Linked DNA regions of Homo sapiens: regions 2, 3 and 4 are each linked to region 1. Evidence: promoter capture Hi-C in 16 types of primary human blood cells and fetal thymus (Javierre and others, 2016). All regions are on one chromosome and are shown on one strand. The core of a region is centred on a gene start or on the middle of the fragment in contact, and the rest is flanking DNA. Distances in the headings are between cores, read along the strand shown.

Evidence for each region. The method cuts DNA at HindIII sites, captures the fragments that hold promoters and counts their contacts. A CHiCAGO score of 5 or more calls a contact.
Region 2: a contact is called between a fragment that was not itself captured here and the fragment with the promoter of GFOD1-AS1 in region 1, in 3 of 17 cell types (naive B cells, total B cells and monocytes). The highest score is 5.6, in naive B cells.
Region 3: a contact is called between a fragment that was not itself captured here and the fragment with the promoter of GFOD1-AS1 in region 1, in 1 of 17 cell types (monocytes). The highest score is 5.0, in monocytes.
Region 4: a contact is called between the fragment with the promoter of NOL7 here and the fragment with the promoter of GFOD1-AS1 in region 1, in 15 of 17 cell types (activated CD4 T cells, erythroblasts, neutrophils and 12 more). The highest score is 15.9, in activated CD4 T cells.

What each region holds. Positions count from the first base shown.
Region 1 is chr6:13,482,881-13,490,362 of GRCh38, forward strand. GFOD1-AS1 (GFOD1 antisense RNA 1) reads left to right here and starts at 3,381. Exons shown (of 2, transcript NR_046709.1): 1 at 3,381-3,573; 2 at 3,801-3,891. GFOD1 (Gfo/Idh/MocA-like oxidoreductase domain containing 1) reads right to left here and starts at 4,720. Exons shown (of 2, transcript NM_018988.4): 1 at 3,758-4,720. The coding sequence starts at 4,010. RefSeq lists enhancers at 1,267-1,336, 3,972-4,081, 5,642-5,771 and silencers at 3,908-4,071, 4,212-4,691, 4,712-5,091, 5,472-5,581. The HindIII fragment of the contact is 1,067 bases long and covers 2,592-3,658 here.
Region 2 is chr6:13,257,112-13,264,593 of GRCh38, forward strand. The region is part of intron 10 of PHACTR1 (phosphatase and actin regulator 1); the gene reads left to right. Among named protein-coding and RNA genes, the nearest start is that of TBC1D7, 68 kb to the right of the region's middle. RefSeq lists enhancers at 551-1,051, 1,052-1,552. The HindIII fragment of the contact is 3,113 bases long and covers 1,571-4,683 here.
Region 3 is chr6:13,300,563-13,308,044 of GRCh38, forward strand. TBC1D7-LOC100130357 (TBC1D7-LOC100130357 readthrough) reads right to left here. Exons shown (of 9, transcript NM_001318809.2): 6 at 7,038-7,183; 7 at 5,836-5,965; 8 at 4,500-4,625. The coding sequence ends at 4,539. TBC1D7 (TBC1 domain family member 7) reads right to left here. Exons shown (of 8, transcript NM_016495.6): 6 at 7,038-7,183; 7 at 5,836-5,965; 8 at 4,389-4,625. The coding sequence ends at 4,539. Among named protein-coding and RNA genes, the nearest start is that of TBC1D7, 24 kb to the right of the region's middle. RefSeq lists enhancers at 2,539-2,588, 6,679-7,482. The HindIII fragment of the contact is 4,796 bases long and covers 1,277-6,072 here.
Region 4 is chr6:13,610,655-13,618,136 of GRCh38, forward strand. It overlaps NOL7 (nucleolar protein 7), which reads left to right and starts at 4,681. Exons shown (of 8, transcript NM_016167.5): 1 at 4,681-4,970; 2 at 5,058-5,118; 3 at 5,809-5,867; 4 at 7,116-7,147; 5 at 7,404-7,482. The coding sequence starts at 4,705. SIRT5 (sirtuin 5) reads left to right here. Exons shown (of 10, transcript NM_012241.5): 10 at 1,136-4,504. The coding sequence ends at 1,211. It overlaps LOC124901263 (a long non-coding RNA gene), which reads right to left and starts at 4,548. Exons shown (of 2, transcript XR_007059461.1): 1 at 755-4,548; 2 at 1-159. RefSeq lists an enhancer at 3,894-4,063. The HindIII fragment of the contact is 25,604 bases long and covers 1-7,482 here.

The sequences.
Region 1 (7,482 bases), core at 2,131-4,630:
AAAATATATGCATATATTTTATGTTATATATACATCTATATATTAGTGTATATGTAAAATATATGTATATATTATGTGTTATATATACATATATATATGGCCTTGAATGGGAGACATAAACAACTGGTAATAATGATTGCCTCCTGTCCAAAGACAGGGACTAGGGGACATTCAGTCTTCACTGTGTACTTTTATAGCATTTGAAATTTGTACCACATGAATATATAGCCAATTCAAAATAACTAAATAAAATTTAAATGTTAAATGAATGCCTTAAAATAGGTGCTAGGCAAGATGGGGGCACACAGTGCTGAGACAACAGAAGGGTATGTAGGGTGGGGGGTTTGAGGGAGAGGAAGCGGTAACACTTGGGCTGAGTATTGAAGGGCGAACATGGAAGGAGACCTCAAGGGACAAGGAAGTTCCTGACAGAGACCTGGACATGTGCGCCAACAGGGCCCATTCAAGGAAACCCCAGCAGGGTGGGCTCGCTGAAGCCCTTGGGTTCGGGAATGGCCACCAGGACGTGAGGCTGGGCTCACTTCTTCAGGATGTGAGGCTGGGCATGTCACGCCAATCAGCTGGGGCTTTTCCTGAAAGGGGAAACGATGACATGACCAGGTCTCTAGCACTGCCAGATACTCCATACCTGGCAGCAGTGTAGATAGTGGCTAGAGGCAGGGTTGGGTGGGGTGGACTGGAACCTAGTTCAGAAACTACGAAAGGACCTGACTTCTATGGGGAACAGACACAGAGAGTTTCAGATGGCATCAAACAGGTTTGGGAACCGATTCCAGGGCTGGGATGGAATAAAGGACAACTCCAACAGTCTGACCTGGGCTGCCATGATCTATGGCAGAGGAACAGGTACAGCTGATGGAAGAGGAAGAAATGACTCCGGGGGAGGTAGAGTGCTGGGTTCAAATCTCTAGCTGTAGGTCTAGGAGCAAAGTGACTCAGGTCTCTGAATCTCAGTTGCTTCATTTGTGAAATGGAGCTAATATCTATCTTAGAGGATTATTTTAGTCATGAAATGAAATGCTTTATACACAGCACTTACCATGCTGCCTGGCATACAGTATGTACTTAATAAGAGGCAGCCTTGGACAGTGTAGAAAGTACACTTGGTAGAAATGCCTCTACAACAGAGGAATGCCTCATTCACAAAGGTAGGGATTTTGAGGAAATTTTTAAAAATTAAAGGAGGATGTGTGTGATTCAATTGATCTGAAGTTTCATTTCACTGTGGTCCCTAGACCACACTTTGTAGGGTCCCTACAAAGTAGGGTCCCTAGCCCCTTACTTTGACAGGCCTGTGACCAGTTATGAGTGTGGATCGAAGGCTACAGACCTGTCACCCTCACTGGGCAAGCAATTCAAAGTCCAGGCCTTTGCTAAAAGGACAATTTACCAGGATGAGTCAAAGTAGCTAGTTTCAATTCCAGGCAAACACTCGTATCTATACACTCCCAACAGCCAGATCAGCCTGATAACTGTTTGGGGTTTTTCACTTCCTACGTTCTATGTGTTGAACCTTCAACAGTGACTGTAAAGCAAACCAAGACGACCACCCCACTGTGCACTCGCAGGGGCACCCTGCAAAAGAAGGAGTTAAAAAAAGAAAGAAGAAAGAAGCTCAAAACCTACCCTAAAAACATGAACAAAACCCTATTCTGTCATCACCATTACTAAACTAGGTCTATTATGCCTCTTATCGCTGGTTTTGAAGAGGTAACAGACATGTCTTGTTAATTAAAGTCACAGGGATATTTGAAAAATAAGAACAGAAGAAGTATCCAGAAATGTCTAATTTGTGTCACATCTCTTGAAACCAGAGCCCCCAGACACTTTCATGGCCATGGTCCCAGAGACAGCCAGAAAACAAGGTCATCCTTGTTCCCCAAATTGCCACCCTCCTGCTCTAGGTTTGCTCTGTGGGTCTGAACCCAGGACAGGAACTGCCATCTTTATGGTGGAGAAACGATGTTAACAACATGGTCTTTCAGATATGACCAGTCCTAAGCTCTCCAGTATACGCAGGGCTCATCAGGGACCAGTTTTGTACAAATTGCACTAATAGAATTATACCATAAGATCGTTATAAGATATTTGATATGCAAAGAGCCAATGTAAACAAGGGAGTTATCCACCCAACATACATGTTCCATTAAACAGAAAATAAATATTAGCATTCAGTTCAATGGCATTCAGTTCAAGGCCAAAGAAACAGGCCACAAAGGGCAGACACTTAATAAAATTAACTGACAATTAAAACTGACAATGTGGGCAGCCTCCTTAGGAATTCTATCAGATGTTGCATCTGAGTCAATAGCCAAATGGCCTGATGAAAATGCCTTTCTATGGAGAAAGAGTTTTACATTCTGTTCATAGCTCTTCGAAGACAGAATTAAAACACACGTATATTTCACCTACCCTGAATCCATACCTATTTTTAACAAATAAAACAGTCTTTCCAAGACTACATAACTTCCGGCTGGTTTCTGGATGTTGTCTCTGTTCCTTCGCAGCTCCTCCCTTCTAATCTGTTCTACTATTCGCTTCATCTGGTTATAAGCTTTGTTCTTGTTATAAGCTTTGTGTTTTTCCTCACCAATAGAAACTTCAGCTTTCAAAGGTGAGCTGCTCATTTTCTTGGAATTGTAAGATCAAGCAACCTTCCTGGGATTGTTTTAGGTTACGTGCAAGAACTGATGATGAACAAAACATGCCCTTCTCTTTCCCCTGAGCATAGGCTGAGAGGCTGCTACTCTGTCCTCAGAGATTGTTCAGACTGCCTGGGAGTTGAGGGGAGCAGGGACCAGATGGTGAGGCACCCTGAACTCATCTCCAGCCCACGGGTCAACACTGTGCCTTCCGAAACTATTCCTGAAGGCGATTAGGGAGGGCCTTTTCTCATGCAAAGCATCCATGCCTCTGGAGCTACTGCGCCCATCCTCCTAAAAATTTAAAATCTATTACTCCAAATTGGGGCAGAAGACATTTCCCGGGAGGCTGCAGTCAAAAGTTAAAACCCCCTGGTTTTACCAAATCAGTCTTTACTAACCTATGACGCCTCTGAAAACATTCTAATACATCATCACCCCCATCCAACCACTCCCACCGTCCTTGCCTCCAGCGCAGACGAAATAATTCCAGCCGATGGTAACATCTGCAATCTCACGCTAAACTAACTCACAGCAGAAAGAAACAAACGACCCTAGCAGGGCGCCACCGCTGCTGAAGGGCAGGTCCTCTATCGCACCCAAGAAAACCCGACACACGTGTGCGGCCTTTTATTCAGGCGTTTCTGGGCGCGCACTCGCCTCTCCCAGGCGCGCGCGCGCACAACCCTCCTCCACCCCCCCATCCCCCCCCCCCACACACACACACTTGGACACTACACACACAGCTGAGGAGTAACTTTCCTCTTCTCGCGGAGCACCCTATCCCCTATTATCGGCATCTGATCTTCCTAGTTCGGATCCCCGGAACACACGCCTTCTCCAGCCTGCAATCTACACACGTGGGGAAGCGCGTCCAAGTGGTGCCAGGAGGCAGGAGGGAAGCGCAAAGGTGGGGAAGGCCGGGGACGAGGAAGGAGGGAGCTCTGAGTCGGATCTGGGATCTCAGATCCCCGGGGCAGCGTAGATGCAGGGTAAGCTTCTGGGATGCGGAGAGGGAAAGGCAGGGGGGAAGGAACCTAGAGAAGGTTAAAGGGCGGGGGTGGGACGGAGGATGCGGGGTAGGGGTCGCTCACCTAGGGTTTTGACAGCGATCTGTCTGGTGAGGGGCGGCGGCAGGTTAATGCACACCAAGTCCACGTCCTGATGCAGCAGCACCTCATCAATGCGGCTAGTGTAGAAGGGGACACTCATCTCCTTGGCCAGCTCCTCCGCTTCTTCCTGCGTGCGGCCCCACAGCGCCTTCACCGCGAAGCCCTCGTCTTTCAGCAGCGGGATGATGACACGGGCCGTGAGGCTGGTGCCGAACACGCCCACCCCGGGAAGCATGGCTGCTCAGAGCCGCCTGGTTCTGCTTCTGCTCGGATCTCCAGTCCAACGCGCGCACACACCCACCTCTAGCCAGTCCTGCACCCCGCTCCTGTAGCCAATCTAGCCGCGGTGCGCCAGCCGCCGTGCACCGGGCAAGGCGCCCGGGTGCCCAGAGCGCACCGAGCTGCAGGCGGAGCAAGCTCGGGGCGCCTCAGAACGGTGACTGCGGCAGTGTCCGCCACGCGGGGCTCGCGTCCTTCCCGGAGTCGGCGGCAGGGACCCCCCCAGGGCGCCGGAGGCTTCGAAGCCCCCTGGAGCCCCGGCTCAGGCTGCGCTCCCGCGGCAGCGCCAGTCCGCTGCGTGCGCCCCGCCAAGGCCGCTCCATGGCCGGCTCATCCCCGCGGCCGCGCCGCCGCAGCCCGGGACCGGCTCTCTCCCGCGTCGTTTGCGCAGCCGGCGAATCGCACAGACAAACGTCTACACCCTGCCAGAGCACGGAACCGCTCCGCGGGGGAGTCTCCTTTCTTCCTAGCTCTCCGTTGGGAATGAAATAATCCCGCGGCCGCCAGGAGGCCGGCTAAGGATGCGGCCCGGAGCGCGCCGGACTGGGATCCCGAGCTGCAGCGCGGCAGCGGCGGCCACGACCCGGCGCCAGCCTCCTCATTCTGCTGCCATGTTCGCTCGCCTCGCGGCTCGGGCGGCCTCGGCCCCAGGCCGGCTCAGGCTCTGGGATCCCGCGGGGACGAGGGCGGAGTTGGCGAGTTTGGCTGTCAGCGGCCGGTGTTCCTGCACCGCCCTCGCTGCAGCGCCGCGCGCCATTGGCCGCCGCGCGCCGCCCCCGCCCCCGCCGCCGCCAGCTCCGGGTGCGCGCTGCGCCCGGGCCCCGGGAGCCCAGCCCGGCTCCTCCCCGGCCCCGCCCAGGCCGCCTCGCCCGCCTCCTGCCCCTCCGCTTCTTCCCTTTCTTTGCCCTCACCATCTCCTTCTCTTCCCTGCTTCACTCCAAACCCCGCCCCAACCAAGCAAATACATCTATCTAGGCAGGACGCGCCCTAATAGGTTAGTCGCCTGTCCCTTGGAAGAGAGCAGTGGGCGCCTTGGCCTGGGGTAGGTGAGGGGACCCGGCGAGGTGCGAACAGCCGATAATAATAACCTCGGCTCCCGGAGCGTTTCTTGCGTGCTGAGCATCATACTAACGCCTTTCCAGGTATTGTCCCTTTTAGTCCTCGCAGCAACCTAAGGTTATTGTAAACCCATTTTACCAGTGATGTGAATGAGCCGCAATGAAGGCTAAGGGACTTGCGCAAGGTGACATATATAAGCAACAGGCCTGCGATTGGAATCCAGGCCCCAGAGTCTGGGCACGGAACCGCAGACTTCTACGGTCTCCTTCCAAGCTAGCCTGCTCCAATCGCGCGCCCCCGCTCCGGCCGCGCACGCACGGTTCAGCCGCCTTCTTCCAAGACAGTCCAGTCTTGGCGGGCTCCCATCTGCCTCCCACCTCCCCCGCCCCTAGGCCCATGCCCGCCCCCGCGTAGACGCTGTGGTGTGTACGGCCGCAGCGGGGCAGGGGGTCTCCGAGGCCGCTGCGGCACGTGCGTCTCGTGTCTAGTTTCGAGACGGATACGTCGCCCTGGCCACATGCCACGCCCGCCTCTTGCTTCGGCTCCTGTTGCCGTCGCCACTTACCGCAGCCTTTACTTCTCCCAGCTTGCCCCCACCTCCACCACCCTGCACCCTTCCCAGGCCCTCGAGGGGGCACTGAGGAGGACTGGCCAAGGCTGGCCCCGCACCTCTGGAGCCATGGGGACTCTGCGTCTGTCTGGTTTTCCGCCATATCCTTGGCACCTGGCACACTGCCTTGCCCTGTATGTAGTAGGCGCTCAATAAACATTTGCTAAATAAATGTATGCATATTCATCGAATGCCCGCTTCGCACCCATTTGGTGCCGGGAGAGGGGACTAAAAAGTGAAAGGCACGTCTTCTAGCTGAAGGTCTCTGGAGAGGTCATGGGTCAGGTCATGTTCATCTCCTGTCTTCAGCACTGGGCTCAATGTAGCACATGGTCTGCCGCAACACGAGTGGAAAACGTGATACTTGCAAGAGTTTAAAACAACTTGTAACAACTGGCAGTGAGGCGGGGCGCGTGGAGAGAGCAGGATACCAAAAAAGCTGTGTGTGGCAATGCGGGGTGGAGGCTGACCTAGGGCATTAGAAGAAAGGCACAAAGGACACAGTGCTGGGTGGCTGGCAGCAGCCTGGGGAGGACTGAGAGACAAAGAGGGGTGTTGCCCTCAATACTAACAGGCTTCTTTTGAGCAGGGGTTTTGTAAGAACCAAGGCAGGAACGCCTATCTGGGCACAGGGGCAGGCAGTGGTGTCAGACCCAAGGGGCTGGATACATCACAGGCTTGTCACATGTCAGAGATGGCCAGGCTTTCAGGGAGCAGAGGATGTGCAGTAGTGGTCGGAGCACAGCTAGAGCCACTGGCGTTGACTTCTGGCTCTGCCATTTACTAGCTGTGGGACCTTGAGCAAATCACTTCTCTGCGGCATAGTTTCATCTATAAAATGGGTGGGTAATAATGGTATATACCACAAGGGGTTTTACAGGATCGTATTCACTAATACTTACAAAGTCCTGAGAATAAGGCATGGTGCATAGTAAGTTCTATATAAATGTTAAATAAATAAATATAGAGAATGGGTCTGTTACCAATGTCATTTCTTGATGAGAGAGACCATTGTACAGTGAAGCAATATCTAAGTAATAAGATGGAGTTTTGTTTGTGTTCTTTTAAAAAGAACTCTACCCCTAGCTTGAGTGTGAATAAAAAATGGACCTTCTAAGCCTGCTGTGGTGGCTCACACCTATAATCCCACTGACTGGGGAGGCCTAACCAGGGGTATCGCTTAAGCCGGAAGTTCTAGACCAGCTTGGGCGACGTAGCAAGACCTCATTTCCTAAAAAATTTAAAAATTAGCTGGACATGGTGGTGTGTTGTGTGTCTGTAGTCCCAGCTACTTGGGAGACTGAGGTGGGATTGAGCCCAGGAGTTCAAGGCTGCAGTGGGCCTAGCCTTGATCATGCCACTGCACTCCAGCCTGGGTGACAGAGGGAGACCTTTTCTCTAAAAAAGAAAAGAGACCTTCTATCTATATAACATCAAAGAAAATGATCACATTTTATTCTCATTAAAATTTATAAATAAACATTATCTCCATTTCATAGAAGGCAAAACTATGTCCTGCTAGCAAGTCCAACTTAAAGGTTTAAAACAGAATACTTCATTTCCAACCTTACTCTCAAGCCATTCCTCCTTCATCAATAAATAAAATCACCAGTTCACCAGTTGGCCAAAAGCCATGGAGTCATCTGGTCCTCATATCCTTTATAGCCAACCATCAGCAAATCCTGTCTGCTCCACTTGCAGAATGCATCCAGAGTCTGCCCACCTCTCCCTGCCATGGTTGGGGAGTCAAAGTCACCAT
Region 2 (7,482 bases), core at 1,877-4,376, 230 kb before region 1:
TCCTCAGGAAGCTGCCAATCATGGCAGAAAACAAAGGGGGAGTGAGGCATCTGACATGGCAGGAGCAGGAGCAAGAGAGAGAGGAGGAGGTGCCACACACTTTTCAACAACCAGATCTCATGAGAACTCATTCACTATCAGGAGAACAGCACCAAGGGAATGGTCCTAAACCATTCATGAGAAACCACCCCCATGATCCAGTCACCTCCCACCAGGCTGCACCTCCAACACTGGGTATTACAATTGAACATGAGATTTGGGTGGGGACACAGATCCAAACCATATCAATCCCTAACTTCATAGAGTTTTATTATACATCATAATCATCTTTCTAATTCCCACCCATCCAGCACCTTATCTGGAAAACGTTCATCAGATATATCTTAAATCATATTGAATTAAGTAAAATGGAAATAAAATAAAATAAATAAAGGTTAAACCCATTGGTCTAAATCACAGCTCTTGACTCCTCTGGGATCTTCTTACTTCCACAGGATAGAACACAAATCTCACGTTTTCCCTTGTAGATGGAGGCTGACACTTTGCGCATGCTATTTCTTTCCTTATTGCTCAGTGACCTCTGTCTTGTCAGTAGAGTCATATGCAGGCTGTCTCCACATCTTCACATCTCTCTAACCTTACCTGCTTGCATGTCCACCCACCTATTGAAGCAGCCTCCTTCAACCTTTTATGACAGCATCTAGAGCTGTTGTTCTCAAACTTTAGCATGCACGTGCATCTCCTGGAGAGAGCTTGTAAAACCAGCACAGATGGCTGTGCCCCACTCTCAGACCTTCTGATTCAGTAGCTCCGGAGCCCAGTGGTTTGCAGGTTAGAGAGCACCCAGGTGATGCTGACGCTGGGGACCACGCTGTGAGAAGCACTGACCTGGGATTCTTCACAATCCTCAGTGCAGGTTTGAATTACCTGCAAAGCTTAAACAAACAAACAAAAAAATACAACAGGCTGGGAGCAGTGGCTCATGCCTGTAATCCTAGCACTTTGGAAGCCCGAGGTGGATGGATCACCTGAGGTCAGGAGTTCGAGACCAGCCTGGCCAACATGATGAAACCCCGTCTCTACTAAAAATACAAAAATTAGCTGGGCATGGTGGCGCGTGCCTGTAATTCCAGCTTCTAGGGGGGAGGCAGGAGGATTGCTTGAACCTGGGAGGCGGAGGTTGTAGTGAGCTGAGATCGCGCCACTGCACTCCAGCCTCGGCGACAGAGAGAGACACCGTCTTAAAAAAAGAAAAAAAAAAAACAGTGCTTAAGCTCTACTTTCATACATTCTGATTTAATTGGTTAAGAATGTGGCCCAGGTTTAAGGTAACACAGGTTATTCTAAGGTGCTACGGGAATGAGAACCACTGACATAGAAACCATGGCAAGCGGCAGAGATCAGGAAAAGAGACAAAATGCTGTAGCAAGAGGACCAGCAATGGGCTTGAAGTTATAAGTTCAGTGTGGTTTTTGTTCCCACTAGTCTCGTGAAGGGTGATGATTGGCAGTGGTGGCCCTGCACCAGTTTTGCCTCAATCTCAGTCTTTTCCTTTGATCAGATCATGTTAAGCTTCTTGAAGACTCTGACAGAGGGTTACTTAAAAAATGCTTTGTGCTCCTAGAAAGAAGGTTCATTTTTTGCCAAAGGTACCTGGTAGAGCTCTTTATTGGAAAGGAGCAGGGAAAAGCAAAGGCTAAATTTTAGTTTTTAAGGTGTGAGGAGAAGCTAATAGCAAAAGATAAAACATGGTCTATATTTGATGGCAGAGCTTTTTAAATCATCTGTGCGTGGTCATTCTTGCTGATGTTGTTTTTATATATAGCTCTAACTGAAAGCCTAGCCCAATTTCTGGCACATAATACACGCAGGGATGGTTGGAGGAGTTAAGCTAAAGGTGACCAAATCTCCTGAGTCACTTTAAAGTGGTGGAGCACTGGACATTTGTCTTTTATTCTGTATTTCCTAGCTTTTTGGCATCACAATGTTTTGGCACTCATTTTGATGGATTCTTCTTGTAAAAATAGCCTTGTTGAAATGACTGTCTTAATTTCTGTTGTAATTAACTACCTTAATTTCTGTTATAACAACTCAGATACTCTTTCAAAGTGGAATCATCCTGACATGGGGTTTATGTCCAATAATCCTAATAATACTGAAAATGTTCACTGTGCAGGCTCTCAACCGTCTCACTGTTTTGTTTTTCAATGGATTTGATGCCTAGTAATACACACAGTCCCATCATTACTCCAAAAGTGATTTCCACTCAACATGACCAGCAATATTACAATACTTTTTTGGGTTATTATCTCAGTGTCTCATCTTAGCCACAGGCCATTGCACTGGGGTCATAGCCTCCAGAGAATAAAGCCAAAAATATTCTTTTAAGCGTAACCTGTTTATCTATTTCAGGTAAGGGATTTTTTTCAAGTTACCAAAAATAGTATTTCATGCTTTGTACTTATTTTTAAAAGGGACTTTCACATCTAATTCTCCTTTGATCCTCCTGACAGTCCTACACAGCAGGCGGGCTAGATGTCATTATGACCATTTGTCATATAGTGAAATTGGGCATGGAGGGGTAAGGAGATGTCATGTGCTCAAGGGACCTTCTGATGAGTGGTGCAGGCAGGCCAGGATGCGGGCCTCAGGGCCCCAGTTCATCTTCCCCCCTCTGTGCTCTCTCCTCTAGCCAGGCTAACTGTTCTTAGCTTAAGGGGAATGACAGAAATTTGAAAATCATTGATGGAAATGCCTGGGAAGAGCTGGGCGTGCGGATCAATAGTATTAAGAGTTGTTCTGCTCAGTTTGCAGAGAGAAAAGGGCATAGTACTGAGGAATAAAAGCAAAACTGCTGTTCAGCCCTCCCAGCAGCCCCTCTTCTGTGGCAGGAATGCCTTCCCATACGCCCAGCATTCTCATTCATCCCATGGGCACAACTCCAGGGGCGAGAGATTATTAATTTGTTTAACATAAAAAATCAAATGAGCCCCTATTATGTGCCAGCTGCTGTACTAAGTACTAAGAACACAGAGATAAATAAGATGTAATTGGTGGTTTTGGAGCATTCATCGTCCAACTGAGAAGATCTTCATGTACGCAGGTATCACCAATGTAATGGATAAGGCCATCGTCAAGATGGGGAACTCCATAGACAGAACTACTACCTCTGCCTGGTAGAATCAGAGGAGGCATCTCAGCTTCCCTAAACTGTGAATGTGCTACTGGGTTGTCCTACTGTGAATAAGGGAGTGAAGGTAAATGAGGCATTGTGGCCAGGCTGTGGTGTGGAGTGAATTCAAGCATTATTCTTAGCGCAATGTCAGGCGGTGGAAGGCTGGTAGCAGAGGAGTAAAACAACCAAGCTATGTCCTCCCCGCCTCCCAACTTCTCCTCTGCCCCTTCTTAGCACTAAAATACTAAGAATTTTGACCAGGACTGGCAGTTAAAGTATTCTCTTTGTTCCATCGCACAGAGATGAAAAAGCTGAGGCTTAGAGAGGAATGCCGTCTCATTCAAGATCTCACACTTGTTAAACAGCAGGCTGACCCAAGCTGGTGACTGGCATGCATCATACTGCCCAAAGCCACTCTGAAGGATAGGGCACCCCTGGGCTTTTATCACACCTGAGATCTGCTGAGTAGCAGGAATTAGGAAATATTAAGAGAGAAATATGAGACTATTAGTCAAAGGTATCATATAATAGAGAAAGGTTTAGTAAAATAAGGGCTCCAAAAGGCCACTGGATTAGACAATTGAATCATCGATGACCTTATCAAGAATTGATTCAGTAGAGCAAGGCTTCTCAACCTAAGCACTGTTGATGCTTTGGACTGAATGATCTTTGTGGTGGGGGCTGTCCCATGCATTGGAAGATGTTTAGCACCCTGGCCTCTATCTACCGGATGCCAACAGCACCCTCTCAATCGCAACAACCAAAAATAACTTCAGACATTACCAAATGCATCCTAGGAGGCAAAATCACCCATGCTGAGAACCAGCACAGTAAAGCTGTGTGAACAGAAGCCAGACTGGAGAGTTACTGAGACCTCGAGCCTGGACCACCCTTTCGAGAGGTCTGGCAGCCAAGAGCAGACAGGTGAGAGGGGTGAGCTGGAGGAAGAGGCTGGCGTAGGAGGACAGCTTTGTTCGTTTGTTGTTGTTTTAAAGAGTTTTATTTCTAATGGAGAATACAGTTGTTTGCCCTAAGGAAAGAACCAAGAAAGAGGTAAAGGTTAAAGGTAAGGAAAAGTCACCAAGTAGCATCCATTTAATTATTTCACAAACATTAAGCATCTCCAGTTACCAGACTCTGTGCTAGGCTCTGCAGATGTCATGGTGAACAAGTGAGAGGTTCCTTGTTCAAAAGATAAAAAAATATTGAAAAGTTTGAAATGGCAACAGAGCATTAAACCCCAAGCAGGAAGCCCTTCTGTGCAGGGGTGGAGTAGGAGGGTGTTCTGTGCACCTGCTCAGATTCTATGGACAGGAAGCTATCCCTGGTTGTCTAAGTGAGGCAGAGGTGGCCCTGGCCTCACAGAGTGTAAGCCTTGTTGTCTGGTGAATAGGACAGGCAATAAAAGAAAGTAAAACAAGCACTGGGGTATGGAACATGCAGGAATATTGTTGCACACTGTAGGACACCTAAACCAAGAGATTTGCAGACAGAGGAAGTGATACTGAAGCTTTAAGCTGTAACGTTAGGGATTATTGTCAGTTAGACAGACAAAGAGGAAGGAAAAGAATGGTAAGGCTATGAGGAAGGGCATGCAAATCTGGAAGGAACCAAGAAGAGATCATTCTGGGTGAAGGACAGAATGGGCAGATTCTTGACAGGCAGGTAGCCAGATCATGAAGAATCTTTCAGAACACTGAGTGTTTTGACTCTGTCCTGTGAGCACTGTAAAGGCATACTTACTTTTCAAGCACAGAGTGGTGTGATCAGATCGGTCCCTTAGAAAGATCATTCTGTATGGGCTGGAGGAGGACCAGAGTGGGATAGGCTGGCAGCAACTGGGAGAGATGCTGATGGACTGCTTCCCCAAGGTGGTGGTAGATGGAATCAGAGATGGTTTGGATATAGGACTCTTGGTGGTTGATTGGCCATCAAGAGTGAAGTTCAGACAGGATGATTCCCAGTTTCATGGCCTGGGCATCTCACTAGGACTCCATACAAGACCACTTGGAGAGGAAGATGTATGGGGGAAGAAGATGAGTTAATTCATTTGGGACCCTTTAAGTCTGATGGCCCATAGGAGTACAAGACAGCAGTTAGAAAGGTGGCCAGGAACTCAAAAATATGACTGGAGGTTTAGATTTTGGAATCATCAGCATATTGATGCTATTGGAAGTCATGAGTGTTGATGAGATCATCCAAGGAGCATGTGTGGCATCTGAACTGGTGGGATCTGGGTTAAATAGTTACTAAATGAGCATCTATTATGCTCTCTATGCTCTCTTAGGAACTGGGGATGTAGTAATAACCAAGGCCAGACAGAAATGCCCCAATCCTCATGGAACTCATAGGTTCTCAGGAGGAAGTTTCCAAAGGATGTAGAGGGGATAGAATTCAGTGCTTCTCCCTTTCCCCTGATCCCACCAAGCCCATCTACACTTCTGGATACCTGTTAGAAAACCCCATCTCCTCCTACTTTTGGAGAGAGGATCTTATTTTCTGTCATTCTCTGTGAGGACTTTTGCATTTCCTCTTTCCATCTGTCTGAAAATGCAGTTACCTTTCTCTGGTGCTGAGTTGCAGAAAACCCAAGTTAATTCTGTTTTTCCTTTGTCCTGAAATGCAGATACAGTTTCAGAGATCCAGACTTTAAAATCAAGGCCCTCAAAACAATAAGCAGTTGTAAATGCTAATGAAAGCTGTGACCTTGGTGTTCTGGAAACGGCAGAAAGCCCATTAGCTCTGTGCAGCACAACTAATCTCTGTCAGCCTCAACAAGTCAGACCAACAAAACCTACAAGGGTTTTGTCACTTCTCTAGGGAGATGCTGTAATGTGCAAAGACAATGCTGCCTGCTCTGCATACATTTAAAGCATCTTGCCACTACATTCTCTACCAGTCTTCTTTTTCCAAGGTCAAAACTGAAGTGTCCTTTATTTTGGGCTTTTAGTGTTTTTTTTTTTTTTTTTTTTTTTCAGTCTTTCCATGCAAAAAGAAAACTTCAATTTATTTGATTATTTCTTATGGTCACCAGTAGAGACAGCATTGTTCAGACTGAAAAAAAAAAAAAGGCAAGATCCATTCTTAAATTTTTAAAGAAAATAGAAGGCTCACATACAGCACTTGATAGCATGTGGCATTTAAACAGGAACCCAGAGATTTTTTCAGTTCACTGAATCATTTAGCCATAGTCCATGGTAAAGAAAAAACCATTTGAGGCATGGAAACCATTTTGCTGCTCAGACATATTTTATAAACCAGGGTCACATATATAGTAGCAAAGCTACTTAAGATCCCTTGAAAGTACATTAAACATTTAATTTTGGATGATTCATTTTATGTAAAAATTTATCTCCAAAAATCATTGCCTTTGACACCTAGCAAAGTGATCACGTTTAGATATACAGTCAGGAATTTTGTTTAATTTAATGTTAGTTTTAATCAGATACAACTAGTTAAATCTACTGGCAAGGTGGGAGCAAAGGAGATACAGTATATTCAGGAGGCATCTTGACTTTGATTCTTGGAGTTAGCAGCTCCTTGGGATGATTCATACAGGTGACCACGTCGTCGTGCTCTGCTGCTCAGCTTTCTATGTTAACCAGTACTTAAGAGATGCACCAGGTACATCGATCATAAAATGAGCCAAGCAGATGGCTGCTTTGCTTGGTGAAGATGGCAAGATGCCCTGGGTGTCCCCCGAAAATTTTGATGACTAGAATTCCAAAGCTGGAGCTTTATGCTTTGGGTTTGTGAATTTGTCTCTGATCAAAGACAAATCTCCCAGTGAATGGTAAAATTTTAAACTAAAATAAGTCATCTTCAGTGTATCTCAACTTGAAAGAATAAGCAAAAGCTATCAATTGGGAACTCTTCTATAATTCCAATACGGAACATTGCAAATCTACATGCAACCCACTCTGTCCTGCTTCCCTGCTGTCCCAGTAAAGAGCTGTTCTTCTTCCACTCAAAAATAATGCTACCTCCATCCCTTGGATCCCAAGCCCTCCTACCTTCTCAGGACTCATGCACTACCAATTGGGCCTTTCCCTTTTTATATATTCAGCTTCTCCCTCCACCCCCCACCATCTAATCTGGATTATTTCCATTAAACATGCCCCATTTTCATCCATTAAAAAAATAAAATTTGGGCTGGGTGTGGTGGCTCACACCTGTAATCCCAGCACTTTGGGAGGCTGAGGGTGGGTGGATCACCTGAGGTCAGGAGTTCGAGACCAGCCTGGCCAACATGGTGAAACCCCATCTCTACTAAAAATACAAAAATTAGCTGGTGTGGTGGCATGTGC
Region 3 (7,482 bases), core at 2,425-4,924, 180 kb before region 1:
TGGGCTAGGAGATGTGCTTGACACTGGGGGAACGAAAAAAAGAATAAGTCATTACCACTAACCTCAAAGAGGTCACATAAATCTGGGACGTAAACAGATCATTCTAAACCAATGTATTAGTCTCAATGTTTGTCTTCCCCTAAAATGTGTGTGCTGAAATCCTAGCCCCCAGGGTGATGGTATTTGGAGGTGGGGCCTTTGGAAGGTGGTGAGGTCTTGGGGTGGTTCCTCATGCATGGGATTAGGACGCTTGTAACGGGCTGAAAGAGCAGAGTTCATTCCTTCCACCAGGACACAGCAGGAAGGCACCATCTATGAACCACACAGAGGGCCCTCGCCAGACACTGAATCTGCCAGTGCCTCGGGTGTGCTAAAGGCAGCCCCTGGCTTCAAGAATCTTGCATCTTAGAGGGAAACCACATGGAACACTTAATAAAAGTTCAAGACAACCGAACAAGAGACTTCCAAACAATTATTGCTAAATGAGTGGTCCCTGAAATGTTACAGAAGCTCAGAGTTAGGAAAATGCACTTTGAGCTTGGCAGTTAACAAATTTTCAGAGAAGGCAGAGCTGAGTTAGGCCTCCAAGCATACGGTAGATTCAAACAGAGACAGTGCCTAGCCACACTCTTGCAAATGATGCTCTTGAAAATATTAAATATCCAGAGTTCCATGCTTCTAAAAGTGCTTTCACAGCCAACTCATGTGATGCTCACAAGCACGCTGGGGAGGGAGGGATGTCACAGAATCACTGTTTGATGATGGGGAAACCAAGACACAGACTGAGTGATTGGCTTGGTTTGCAAAACTAGTGAGTGGGGCAGATGCTCATGCCCCCTGCCCGGTCCAAGGCTCTTCCTGTCACCTCTTCCATTACTAAGTGAAGGGGACACAGAATCACACATCTCACAGCAATTCTACCCTTCCTCTGGAGCTTCTGGACAGACTCAGTCCACCTTCTCCCTGGTGTGGCAGCACAGGAGTTGAGAGTTTCTACTAAAGATGTCTGGAACAAAACATCTATCTGTTAAATATGTCTTCCCTGCATGCTTGTACACTCCGAGAGGGCAGATACCATGTCTTGTTCAGCAATTAAGCTCAGTACCTGGCCCATAATTAAGACTGTATTCACATATATTTTGTGATTGAATGAAAACAAATAAAAAGACAAATGAACCAAACATATCGGTCAGAGGAGGGAGAAACGGGAGGTGGGAATGCAGGCCCACTGCGGTATAGCGTGCAGCCACCTGATGTTTAGGAGTGAATCTTCCAAAGCTTCTCCTCTTTGCTGCCCCCCTCTCAAATCTTCTTAGTATTATGTCCAGAGGGCAGGCAGAAGCAGGGAAAAGAGAGATGCTAAAATGTCCAGCAAGCACCAGCTTGCTACTTATTAAGACTCTAGGAAAGGATGATGGAGAAGACCAGGAAGTGACTCTGTGATAAAGCCAGTGCTTAGCGTGAGCTCTGGCAGTCCCGAGTGCCTGCCATGTAAGTTCCTGGTAAACTGCAAAGGAAAACCTCAGTATTAGGTATGAGTTGGAGATGTGAACCTTAAGCGCTTGCTATGACATTCAATTTGGAGTTGTGCTTAGGATGAGCTTCTAGGATTCTTGTGTGTCCTTCTCTGATGACATTCTCCAACTCCCTTTGTCATTGTCCTGGAGTAAAATCAGCCCCTGGGAGGGGGCTCCCCTTATGGGGAGTTATCACCTCATCTAGAAACTGTCCACTCACTTTTTAACCTCCCCAAGGCAAGGCTGACAGAGGGACCAAAGTGGAAAGGGCGACTGGTCGGGAAAGCCATGAAAGGCCAGCACCCCCACCGTGGTCCCCCAGAAATCACTACCACCCTCTGTTCTCCACACCGCCATCCATCACCCCTCCCTCCTACTCAAACTGGTGCCAGCTCTGGAGGAACATCAGCTGATCTAGGAGCCACGGCTTGTGCCAAGAGCCACGGACAGTTTCATTTGGCACACAGTCTCAAGGAGAAACGGCTCTTTGTTTTCACCAACAGAGGAGATGCCACCAACTCCTGCTCCCCAAATTCCCACACTCCTTTCCCTCTCTGTCAAGGGCAGAGGAAAGCACCTTCTGGCCCTTCTAGACCCAAAACACCCAGCTAAAGACAAAGGCTGCTGACCTTATGTGACCCGGGCAGATTCACTGTCCACACCCCACACCCCTCACCAGGCTCCCCAAAGGCTGCCTTGGCTGGAGAACTTGGGATGTCACTCTGCTGCTTACGGTCACAGAGCTCGAGCAGGCGCTGTCACTTGGGCCATGTGAGCCAGTGACTCATTTTAGGATCTGGTCCTGGGCATCTAAGCTCTTTGCTTACCCTCCTCATCCCCACTGGCTTCCCTCCAGGTTCTTCATTTTCAGACAGAAAACACCAAAACCTTGAGTCACCATAGGGACGTGATAACCACATGACAGGAAACTTATGCAATTCAAGACAGGGCAAGTGCCTGTCATACCCAGAGCTACAGTGCAAGAAGGTCCTCGGAGCTCCTTCAGCGCATCATATGATTTCAGTGTTGCCTCATAATTTTCAGGCGAACTTTCCATTAACAAAGAAAGTGCTTCATTCTCATGAACCCTGACCTCATTTCCTGAAACAGCCTTGACACACAAGCCTGTGTACACACAATCCTCTACACAATTATACCTCGACGCAATCCATCCATTCGATTTGTCAGCAGGCCAAAGCCACACCCCCAACACACACACACTCTCCAACCTTCCTCGGCCTTCCTTTCTCCTGGCCAAGAGGACTGAGATCTTCTCTCATCTGTGTTTAAGGCAAATCTCTAGACGGGAAAGAGCAGAAACTAAATTTGATCATGTTAAATTCCAGCTTTCCAAGGGCGAGGAAGAATCTCACATTTTAGCCGCAATAGTCTGTGACAGGAACCGTGGGTTGTAATATATGAAGGAAAAATTCTGCAGTATCCTGACAAAATGTTTTGAAGAAAAGGCATATGGATGTATTTTTATCAGGAACTGCGCTCCTCACCCAAGACAGCAGGCACAAACATTTTCAAAACACTCAGCTCTCAGCAAAGTGAAATTCTGCTATGAAGCGAAACTGGATGCTCATCCTCTCCATCCACCACTTTCTCAGGATGGGCCTTAAAAAAATCATTCCGCCAATCAGTGTTTTAATAAAAACTCTCAGATTGACTAACTTCAAGAAAAAATCGCCGCCCCACACCCTACAGCCAGAAAGGTTTTACCAAACTGGGTTTGACAGAATATACTTGCAGAATATTTATTTTTAGATCTCTCAGCAGTACAGTAAGAGTCTTTCGTTTCAGATCAGCTGGCCTCCAGCCAAAGCAGCGAAGTCAGAGGAACTTCAGCCCCTAAGCCTTCCTGCTCCCTAAGAGTACCAGCGCTCCTGCCTGGCTCCGGCATAAATGGTTGGCAATAAGTCATTTTTTATTAAAATTTTAACTCTAGGCAGCAATTTTGCTTTAAAAGGTTTTTCTTTGGAGTGCATTTTTATTTTAAAAAATTAAATACTCTTGGATATGTTAGTATTCAGAAGCAGCAGATTTCAACAGCTCACACTTTCTCTGAACTTTTTTTCAACAGATATTTCACACACTAAGGAGGGCCTGAATTCTCAGAATTGTACCTCTATAAGTTCATAGCTGCCCTCGTCTTTTAGGGGGTGGGTGGAAAATCCAACTCACCACTCAGGCTCTTGCAGGTCTGAAGGCTAAACCGGTGTGAAACAAAGGGTCCCCTTTCACTCACTACTCCCAAAGCCGGGAACTATCCAGTGAAGAGTGGCCATGCCATTTACGTGGCACAAGGTGGCCCAGGGGTGATGAGCTGTTCACCTTCACCGGCCATTTCTCTCACTGCTTTAGTGCGTGGCACAGTGCACCCTAACATCCCACATTTAACACCCCATCAAGAAAAATGTGAGTGCAGCAAAATATCCAACAAGTACTTGCTCCTAGGAGCAATTCAAACACATTTTGTTCAATAATGGTTTCATTCCAACTGGCCCAAAGAGAAAAAAGAGTAAGGAATTGTTTAAAGCCTGTTTAGCAAGATGAAGCCTCAGAAGGCAGTTGGCTTGGATTTAAACACGTATTGCATCAACAAAAGCCAAATCTGAGGTGTCAACAAAAGGAAGTCACTCTTATTCTAGAAACAGACCTTGAAAGTAACTAGCTTGGTGCTAATTAGAGACAGGCAGGGCAGGCTTAGTTATGCACTGCTGGTTAACACACCCACTCACCCTGACTAAACCGCTTTAAAATCAGGGAGCTATTTTCTAACAACCCTTTTGAAATGCTATTCAGAGATGAACTTTACATTTCTATGTAACTGCAAGATGCTGCTCGCCAACACAGCAACACCAGGCATTTCAATTAAATAATTTTATTGGGGGAAAAAAACCACTTTGAGCACCAAAGCAAGAAAAGTGTATTATTCAATCAGTTTCCCAGATCACATGCCAAGAACACAATGCTCACTGTGGTGCCTGGCAGACGGTCCACAACCAGCGGGTGCGTTCAGCTTGAATGGACCGGGGTCCCACAGTGTTTGTGCCACAAGTCAATGGCCTTGCTCACGATCGCGTCTGAGCTGTCCTGGGGAATCTGTGGGCAAGCAAATCAGTCTTTGTGAAATTTCAGTGTTGACAACTTCAGTGTCTTCCCTCATTCGCTGTGGCATGAAATCCACTTCCATGGGAGTTTGCACTGTTTTTCAGAAAGTGACAGCATAAAAGACTTGCGTCACATGCTACCTGAGGACATGAAAGGGCTCCAGTGTCAGCCTGCCTGGGTTCAAATCCTGCACTGCTCACTAACTGTGCACCCCCGGGCAGGTTACCTAAGCTACCTGGGTTTCAGATCCCCATCTCTAAAATGGGGGAAATGATAGCCTGACTTCACAGAGCTGTTCACAGTAGGACATGAGGTAACCCATGGAAAATACTTAGCACAGGCTTCGCACTGCTAGCCACCTCTGGTTATAATGATGATTATTCATTTATTCAACGCATATTGACTCAGTACTTTATTATAATTTACCAGGCCATTTTTCAAATGTTAATACTATTTTAAAAATGAATAGATTTTGGATTCTGTGAAAATCATTCAGGCATAAGTCTCTTTAATCCTACTTCTTGCCTGGTAAAGGGTATTCCAAGATACATAGCGAGGGAAAAGTTAATTTCATTACCATTGCCTTTTTCAGCAATATACTAGGTTAATACTGTATATTAATAAACCCAACTGGGACTACACCAGAGACAGTAACAGAAATGAAATGGCTTACAAAATCCTCCAAAATACAGAACCCCTTTTGAACTGACAAAAATTACTCATTGTAAAATGACAGATCCCACCTATTCCTTTTCCTGACATGCCTGCTGATAGTCACATGGAGGATGAGACTCTGGTTCTAAGTGGACACATTCACGAGATGGTCTCAGACCATCATTTCCCAAAGACAGGATGCAAACTAACCCTCAGGCCAACTTTAGGCCAAACTTTTTCAGGGAAAAGTGTTTCTTATAATGTAAAAATACACTGTATGATTTCTCTGAAATAATCTAATGTAACAGGAAAATCTCACTTGCTAAAGTGACTTCATTTCTAGATTCAAAATCAAATCAAATTATTATTTCTCTTAAATAATTTCCCTAAAATAATCATTATTATAATTATTCTCTGAAACATTCTAAGGTATTATTTCTCTAAAATCATGTAATTATTTCTCTGAAATAATCTAATGTAACAGGAAAATCTGACTTGCTAAGGTAACTTCATTTCCAGATTCAAAATCAAATCAAAGCACACTTACATTTTCCAGAAACTTTGTTATCTTCTCTGCACTGTTCAGTGCCATAACTTTTATTTTAAAGGTTAATAAAATTTCGACAGCTACAAAAACTAGGATCTTACAGGATCCACTCACAACTTTATCCCAAACCCTACAAAAATAAGGAGATATAATCAAATTATATGAGTTTCAGAATTATGTTTAGCCTAGACATCTCAAATTACAAAATAAAATCAAATTGCTCCAATTTTATGTAAAAGCTTCAAAGAACAACTTTTATGAAATAATCACCAAAACAACAACAAAATACAGAAGCCATTTGAAATCTATTCTAGATACAATCAGCACTAGAAGGAGAAAGGAAAGTTTACTAAAAATTACTGCTCCACTAGGAATCTACCAAAATCATATTCCCTCATGTTGTGAACCTGACATTTCTGAGGAAGAAAAAGAAAATCCTAAACTAATGGTTTATATTCTGCTAATATGCCATAATGCTAATATAATTATAGCCTACTAAGGGACAACAAAAGATGTATATGAAATGGGATAAATTCAATTTCATTGCCAGTGATTCTGGGGACAGACTCCTTAAACTTCTCCAAGGGCGTAAGGAGCCAGTTACTGATCTATAACCACTCTAAAATAATAATTCTGATCATTCCTGTAACTCCTAAAAGTTGGTATTCTACTTCATACACTTAGTTACATATTATCTTATAATGTTCTCTGTGTATTGCACTGTTCAGTGCCATAACTTATTTTAAGAGTTACTGTTCTACTACATCACAAAGTCTTAATGGGTGGCACCTGGACTCCGAAATACCCAGACATGTCTGAAACTGACTGGAAGAACTTAGTCAAATCTTTGACTGCTTTCAGCTTCTTTAAAGATATCATGATGAAACTAACACTAAGATTTCTACTGGAGGAAGATTTGTCACATTTCTGGAAAAAAGGGGCTGACGCTTATATAAACTCATGGAGACCATTTGAGGTGTGACTGCTTCACAGCATCTAACGCACTGAGGGCCCTTAATTTTTCTAATTGTATATTCAAGAATAAGCAGAATCATGTGCTGTTACGGTAGCTGCTGGAGGACTGAGCTTCAAATTACTGTATTGTTCTAAAGCAAATTTATAATCTGAGGGATGACCACATGAAAGGCCAGAACTCTGCTCTAACGCCAAGCCTTCAATATGTCTTCGAAAGACCTACTTGCCTCTGTAAACTGGATTCAGGCAAACATCCCGCAAAGCACCTCTTGAACCAGAGATCATAAGGAAGTTTGGGCGCCGCGGAACACATCCTCAGATGAGTCAGCAGTCTGCCATCTTCCAGATTCAAGTATTGTTCAAACGCTTTTGGCTAAAGATTAAGCAAGAACAGAGATTATTCATTTTCTGTGTCATAACATCATCTGATATTATAGTCTCTGATGAAAAAAAAGTACATGCTGAATTCAAGGAAGTATTAGAAAACAAAACTTCAGAATTATCCAAGTCACTTGTGACACAGCAGTTTCCTAGGTCAGCCCTAACTAAAGTAACAAACCATCCAGGACTGAGGAGTTTCCCAGGACACAGGGCTCTTTCAGTGCTAAAACTGAGGCAGTCCCAGGCAAAATGGAATGGTTGGTCACCCTAATACTAACTTCACTAGCCAGA
Region 4 (7,482 bases), core at 3,431-5,930, 130 kb after region 1:
GAGGATCTGGGAATTCCCTAAACGCTCCCCATGGCTGGCAGTAATTCCTGGATAACCACATACTGGCCTGGAACTTTCTGGAAGTCAGTGCTCAGCACGTGGCAGGGGGCAGACGGACTGGAGATGCCGTGTAGTCTGGGCTGTCCATTAAGTGGCACTCTGTTGATAGAACAAAGCATTTGAGGGATAAGGCAGTCACTATTTGTATTGTATCAAGAATAAATAATATAAATGAGTTGCACTGAGGAAATGCCTTTTCTATTTTTAATTGTGCTCAACTGGTTTTCTTTTAATAATGCATGAGGAAGTCCTGCTTTTGCTTCTTATTCATAGTTTTTTTAAACAAAAGTCCATGATTTTTCTTCTTTTTTCTCCTTCCTCTTTCTCTTTTTTCTAACTACACCTCAGAAGCTAGTCAGAAAGTTCAACAGGTGGTTTGAGAGGCTCGTTGACTTAGCTGAGATCCTAGTGGTCAGATAGTGCATGGGTATTTTTTTCTCTTGTTCTCAGTACTACCTGTGAATGCTGCTGTAATGTTTTATGTGTGTGTGTGTATATATATATATATATATATATATATATACACACACACATACACACACACATATATATACACACACATATATACACAAAAAAGTATGTATTGTGTCTATATATAACATGCCAAACATACGTGTTATATAGATACACATAAAACATATATATGTATATAAAATACATATATAACACACATACATGTATATTTTATACTTACAATTTCAATGAGTTTGGCAGTACAGTCCCAAAATACACTTTACTTGCATAGGTTCTCAGGATTTGAAAAAAACAAACAGAATACACTTTGTAATCATGTCTCTTACACTTTGAAATAAAATTCTTCTTTATGGCACATAAATTCTAGACATTTGCTTCTCAAAATTCCCCCAGTCACAGAGCCCAGCCCATAGTGAAGTGTTATAACTAGAGTTGTTAGAAGCTAGTTGAAAGAAGTGGGCATGGAAATTCATAATACCATCTTTATGAGAATTTGGGTTTTACTTCGGCTATTACTTCAGAAATAAGTGCTTGCTGAAGTAGGGCATTCATTTTGCTAACCTGTAGTTCAAAACTGCTGTATTTGCTTCTTCTCTTTCAGGTTTCATTTCCAGGGACCCTGTGGAACGACTCTTCCTGAAGCCCTTGCCTGTCATGAAAATGAAACTGTTTCTTAAGTGTCCTGGGGAAGAAAGAAATTACAGTATATCTAAGAACTAGGCCACACGCAGAGGAGAAATGGTCTTATGGGTGGTGAGCTGAGTACTGAACAATCTAAAAATAGCCTCTGATTCCCTCGCTGGAATCCAACCTGTTGATAAGTGATGGGGGTTTAGAAGTAGCAAAGAGCACCCACATTCAAAAGTCACAGAACTGGAAAGTTAATTCATATTATTTGGTTTGAACTGAAACGTGAGGTATCTTTGATGTGTATGGTTGGTTATTGGGAGGGAAAAATTTTGTAAATTAGATTGTCTAAAAAAAATAGTTATTCTGATTATATTTTTGTTATCTGGGCAAAGTAGAAGTCAAGGGGTAAAAACCCTACTATTCTGATTTTTGCACAAGTTTTAGTGGAAAATAAAATCACACTCTACAGTAGGTAATTTATTGTATAAAGACATTACCCCACGATATGGCTTTATTAGGGACTTTTTTTTTTTTTTTTTGAGACAGAGTTTCACTCTTGTTGCCCAGGCTGGAGTGCAGTGGTGCGATCTCAGCTCACAGCAACCTCCGCCTCCCGGGTTCAAGAGATTCTCCTGCCTCAGCCTCATGAGTAGCTGGGATTACAGGTATGTACCACCACACCCAGCTAATTTTGTATTTTTAGTAGAGACGGGGTTTCTCCATGTTGGTCAGGCTGGTCTTAAACTCTCGACCTCAGGTGATCTGCCCGCCTCGGCCTCCCAAAGTGCTGAGATTACGGGCATGAGCCACCGCACCCGGCTTACTGGGGGCTTTTTAACCTTGTTTGGCTACATTACCTCAGTGAACAAGGGGAAGCTCACAACAGGAACTCACACAAAGAAGGAAGAGAACAGTACCAACAAGGTAGAACATCACGATGAGAAGAAAGAATGATGCAAATATGTGGACCCCCAGGATAAACACAGCTGCCCAAAATTTAGCTCTGGCCCCCTTAGATGGGGGAAGTCAACAGTGAAGTGTTTCTCAGCATCATAAAGGCAGAAGCTGTGGTTCCTGTGGGGCCTGCCAACCGTTCCCAGATGCTGAACTCTGCTGGGAGTTTTTTCCATGGGACTTTAAAAAATGATGCCCTTAGGTTGGGCCAGACCTCTGTTAACTTCAGTAGGGATGGCACCAGGTTCAAGAGGCCAAAGAAGAGACCTGGAGCTAGTGAAGGAAACATAGGGTTTATTTGGGGAACCTTACAGGGTGGTCCAGTGGCCGCGGGCTGGACAGAACTGCAACCACTTATAAAAAGCATGCAGTTTACATAGCACTTTCACTCAGCACCCTCCCCTCAGCAGCCTCCACGTGGCAACCCTCACTTCTTAAGTTATTGCTGTCAGATGCATCTGCCATACAGGGTCATTCTCAGGGGATGCTTAAGTTATTTCTGTCAGGTACATCTTCCATACACTTTACTACCTTGGAGTAAAGTAGTAAGAATACAGCTTTTTCCTTAACCTTTACCAGCTAACTCAGTGCTTAGGGGCCTTGGAATGCCTGCTGTCCAGCAGGTGTCACAGGCCTGACTGGGAGGCATGGCCATTATCAACAGTGTATGAAGGTCACATATGGCTCCCTGAAGTGATTACATACTTGGACCACATCACCTCAGCCCCTTGCAAAATTGCATTTAATGTTACACCCTTGGCTTTTGTAGAAACAGGCAACAAGACACTATCATATAAAACTTTGTACTGCATTGCAAGGCATAACCTTTAATAAATCCCAGTGGTCCTTTGTGTAGGGAACGGGGATGCTCATAGCCTATGGGGCGGCTGGAGAACCAGTCAGGGACCCTGAGGGCTCGATGTACACTTTACATGGGTGGGCCAAGGAGTTTACACTGAGGGCACTGGTAATACCTGTAATAGTCTTATAGTACTTATAAAGCAGTTTTGCACATAAAATACCATCATGCACTTATAAGTTTGTTCTTGGGCTGCTCCAAGTTAACTTTATTCATTTTCCTAGTGTTAGTGTCTCAGGGAGTCTGATTATATTTTTGATTTGTAATTTCTATCTGACTAAGGCCTAGAGATTTCAAAACTGTTCTTTGCAATTCCTCTCATACTGAACCTCTGGTTCAGCAGCTTTTTTTGTTGTTGTTGTTTTCAAGTTTTATCATTTTTGTTCCTATTTGGTTTTGTCGTTTTTAAATTGAGAATTGCTTCTAAAACAGAAGACATGAAAAGAGAATTAAAAATACAATATATGTGTAAGATAGAATTATTCAACTTAGCATTTATTAAACATCTACCAGATGATAGACATTAGAAATAAAATGACTAGCAAGACCTGGCCCTTCCCCTCAGGGGTTCACAGAATGGCTGGAGCAACTGTCATATAAGCTGTTATGAAGTGCAGAAACTACACAGACATTTGTGCGGGTTCAGACCAGCGCAATTAGAGATGGGCAGAGTGGGATGGGGTAGGGGTAAGGTGCTTGAAATTTGCCTGGGTGGGAATTTTTGAAGTATAAAAAGGACTTCTACCTGGGGGGCTGCGGCAGTAGAGGGAAGAGCACGGTCGGTACAAATGCATGGCAGGTGTGAAACAGTTTGATTTGTTCAAAGAATGATGAATCACTTAGTGTTGTATAATGGATGGGAGGAGAGAAACACAGCGATCACAAAGGGCCATGTTTGCCAAGAAATAAAATATACTTGGAAAAAAAGTACGTATGTGTATATACCACAAAACTCGGGTGCATTCTCTAGGGACCGGCGAAGCCATTCTTTCAGGAGATATGCTCAGCATTTGCCACGGGCCAGCTGCTGTTCCAGGTCGTGGGTTAGGGCCCGGCACCAGGAAGGGCGCCCCTCCCACAGGGCCGACATCCTAACCGGCGTCGCTGCGGCCGCGGAGCTGGGAAGGCCGAGGGCGCCGGGCACGTCTGTGCAGATTTCTTTAGAGTCCAGGTCTGTCGCCCGCGTCTTCGTCGGTGGCAGCAGGGCTGACTGGCCACGGCGGCCATCTGCTAGAGCGCATTTCTTCCCATGAAACGCCACCTCCTCCGAAGTGCGGAGCGAACGCAGCCAAATCTACACAAAGACTGACAAGCTGGATCCACTCGACGGAACCCAGGGCCAAAAAACGGCGGCGAGCAGCGCCTCGGGCCCGCGATTACCGGTTTTCTGAGCACCGGACAGCGTGAGCCGTGCCAGCCCTGTCTCGCCATCCCAGCCGAGGAGGGCAGCGCGATGGCTCTTCCCTGCCTTGAAATCAACCCCATTGCCAGCCGCTTTCGCCGGCAGAGCATTTTCCGTGGGGTCCATCCGGCTCCAAGGCGGCCTGCGCTGGCCACGTGGAAAGAAACACGCCCACTGCCTACAGGCCACGCCCTTCCTCCCTTCGCGCATGCGCCCCACCCGTCCTGAGGACCTCCGAACCTGCAGGGGGCGATGAAAGTAGGCTTGCGCTCCGCTTGTAGCTGCTTCCGGGTCAGAGGTCAGACGGTCTAGCGCTGCGTGGGCCATGGTGCAGCTCCGACCGCGAGCGTCTCGCGCCCCGGCGTCGGCGGAGGCGATGGTGGACGAGGGCCAGCTGGCCTCGGAGGAGGAGGAGGCGGAGCACGGGCTGTTGCTCGGGCAGCCCAGCAGCGGCGCGGCCGCCGAGCCCCTGGAGGAAGACGAGGAAGGGGACGATGAGTTTGACGATGAGGCCCCGGAGGAGCTGACTTTCGCCAGCGCCCAGGCGGAAGCGAGAGAAGAGGAGCGGCGAGTGCGGGAGACCGTGCGCAGGTTCGGAGCCCGCTGCCCGGCGGGGAGAACCGCCCTTTCTCGTCCCGCTTGTCCTTCCCTTTGCTGACTTATCACCCTTCCTCCCAGGGATAAAACGCTCCTGAAGGAGAAGAGGAAGCGACGCGAGGAGCTGTTCATCGAACAGAAGGTTAGAGGCTAGGGAGGAGGTGTCTTATTAAAACAACTCGGCTCAGGGAGAATTCCTATGGTGGATGTAATTTGGGTTGGCAGGATATTGGAGTGGGGAAACAGTCACCAAGATTGCCTCTGACAGTGGTGGAAAGATGCTCGGGCCGGGCGCGGCAGTACTTTAGTTGGACGAGGTGGGCGGAGCCCGGGATGTCGAGGCTGCCTGGAGCCGAGATCACACCACTGCGCTCCAGCCTGGGCGACAGAGCGAGACCCTGTCTCAAAAAAAAAAAGTTCGTCTCCTTTAGTGTCCACCAACTGAAAATAAGAGGTTGCTGTGAGAATTAAATGAGGTGATTTGTAAACTGTAAGGGCTGTACAGACTTAGTGTATGGTTGCTTTGCTGTCTGATACTCGACACAGAGAGCTGGCTCCAGGCAGACATTACTTAACTGCTTTCAATTTATAACAGTGACCTGAGGGTTAGAATACCGTGGGCACCCTTTCTAGTTTTCATCAAGTCTTTCAGAGAATGTGGAGTTTTGTGGACCCGGTCTTCCCATAGCTTAGAGGTATGGGGGCAGTTTCCAGCCTAATTCATTTCTTTGCCTAGATGTAGGGCATTCTTAAAAGCGGTAACTTCAGAAGCAACTCCGGACATACTATGTACATGACTTTCTATTAATTTTAAACGTTTTCATTCCAAAAGAAAAGAAAACTCCTTCCAGACACTATTTTGGAGAAGTTAACCACAGCTTCACAGACTAAGTAAGTAATGGATCTTTTTATATTACTTGCTTATATACACCCATCTTTGAATTATATACTGGTACATTTATTTGAATCCATATAACTGAAGGAATTGTAGAACCCAAATTCAAAAGCTACCTTGGTATATGAATTTGATGGGAAAGACGGAGGTAACGTTCTACTTCTTATTTTACCATTTATTTTTGTTCATTCCCATAGCTAGCTTTTGAATTCCTGATCCCATTGTGTTCATTCAGTACATTTTGTTGACTGCCTGTCATTGTACTAGGGCATAGTGGGTGGTGGTGAATAAAAAGTGTTTTGAATCATTTAGTGGGGTAGCAGGCACTTATCCACAGGCTCTGAAAACTTGATTTGTCCCATACTTGCCTTACCTGCCACCAACCTGTCCTTCCTGTTCCCCACTTCATTTAGCATCTTTGGTGTTTTATGGTTTAAAGCGAAAAGCTATAGTCGTCTTTGGGAATTGATCAAACCCTACTAAATTTAGCCTTCTAAATTTTTTTTTTTCTATCCTCTTTTTCTCCCCTTAAGGCTTTAAATTCAGAAATTCAGCCCCCTTTTGCTTAGGCCAGTGACTCTCAAGTTTTCAGTAAAAAAACTTTACCAAAGAGTTACTCAGATCCTGAATACATTAAACGTAAGAGCAAATCTATTTGGTGGCAAATTCCCTTTCATCTTTTAAAACCAAGCTCAAGTGTCACCTTTACCTTCTCATTTGCCCCCCCCCACCTCCCATCACTTCCGCTTTTGTGTGGCCTTTCTCCTGTGCAAATGCTTCTGTATTGTATTCTGTCCATTTACATTTCTCTCTCCATTGGGCCACAGCCCCCTTGAGGCTGTTCCCTGTCTCCTGTGCCTAAACTATTAAATTAATCCTTTGTGATTTCTCCAAATGAAATGAGGCAGACCTACTCCCATTCACTTCATATTTCAAATACTTTATAACTTGTTCTGAACAAGTGTTTCACTTGAACTCCATTGCCCACAGCATTTTGCTGCTTTGAAAGCCTGCTAATAGGCTCTCAGATTTTAACTGTGAAGATCTTCCAATGCTTGAGAGTTGGTGGCAGTGTACTAGGGAGTGACTATTGCTTTCCAAACTGATGAGAGCTCCTGAGTAGAAATTGAGGGTGTTGGTAATGAAAGGGGGTGTCTTACTTGTAAAGGCAAATGAAATAATATAACATGTTTTGAGTAATCTTTACTGCCATTGCAGTCAGTGGTTTTGTTTTTTTTCCTTAGCATCAAGAAATCGCCAGGAAAGGTGAAAGAAGGTATGACTATTCTAATTTAACTAACTTCTCATGTAAGTGTCAAGTGCACTTGCAGATGTTTCCAGTCAAATATGAATGGCCCTTAGAAAGCCAGCATGGGCCTGGCCAAGGTTAGCTGGGGCCTATTCCCTGTATTTCATACAAATAAAAACTGCATCCACATTGGTGTGTAGTGGATGCTTAAAGTGAACTCCAGTAAATTTCCTGATTTATTTTTACGTGAATGCTAATTAGAAAATGTAACTCTATTTTTTAGTTAATTTGCAAAAGAAAAATGAAGACTGTGAAAAAGGAAATGACTCCAAGAAAGTTAAAGTACAAAAAGTACAGTCTGT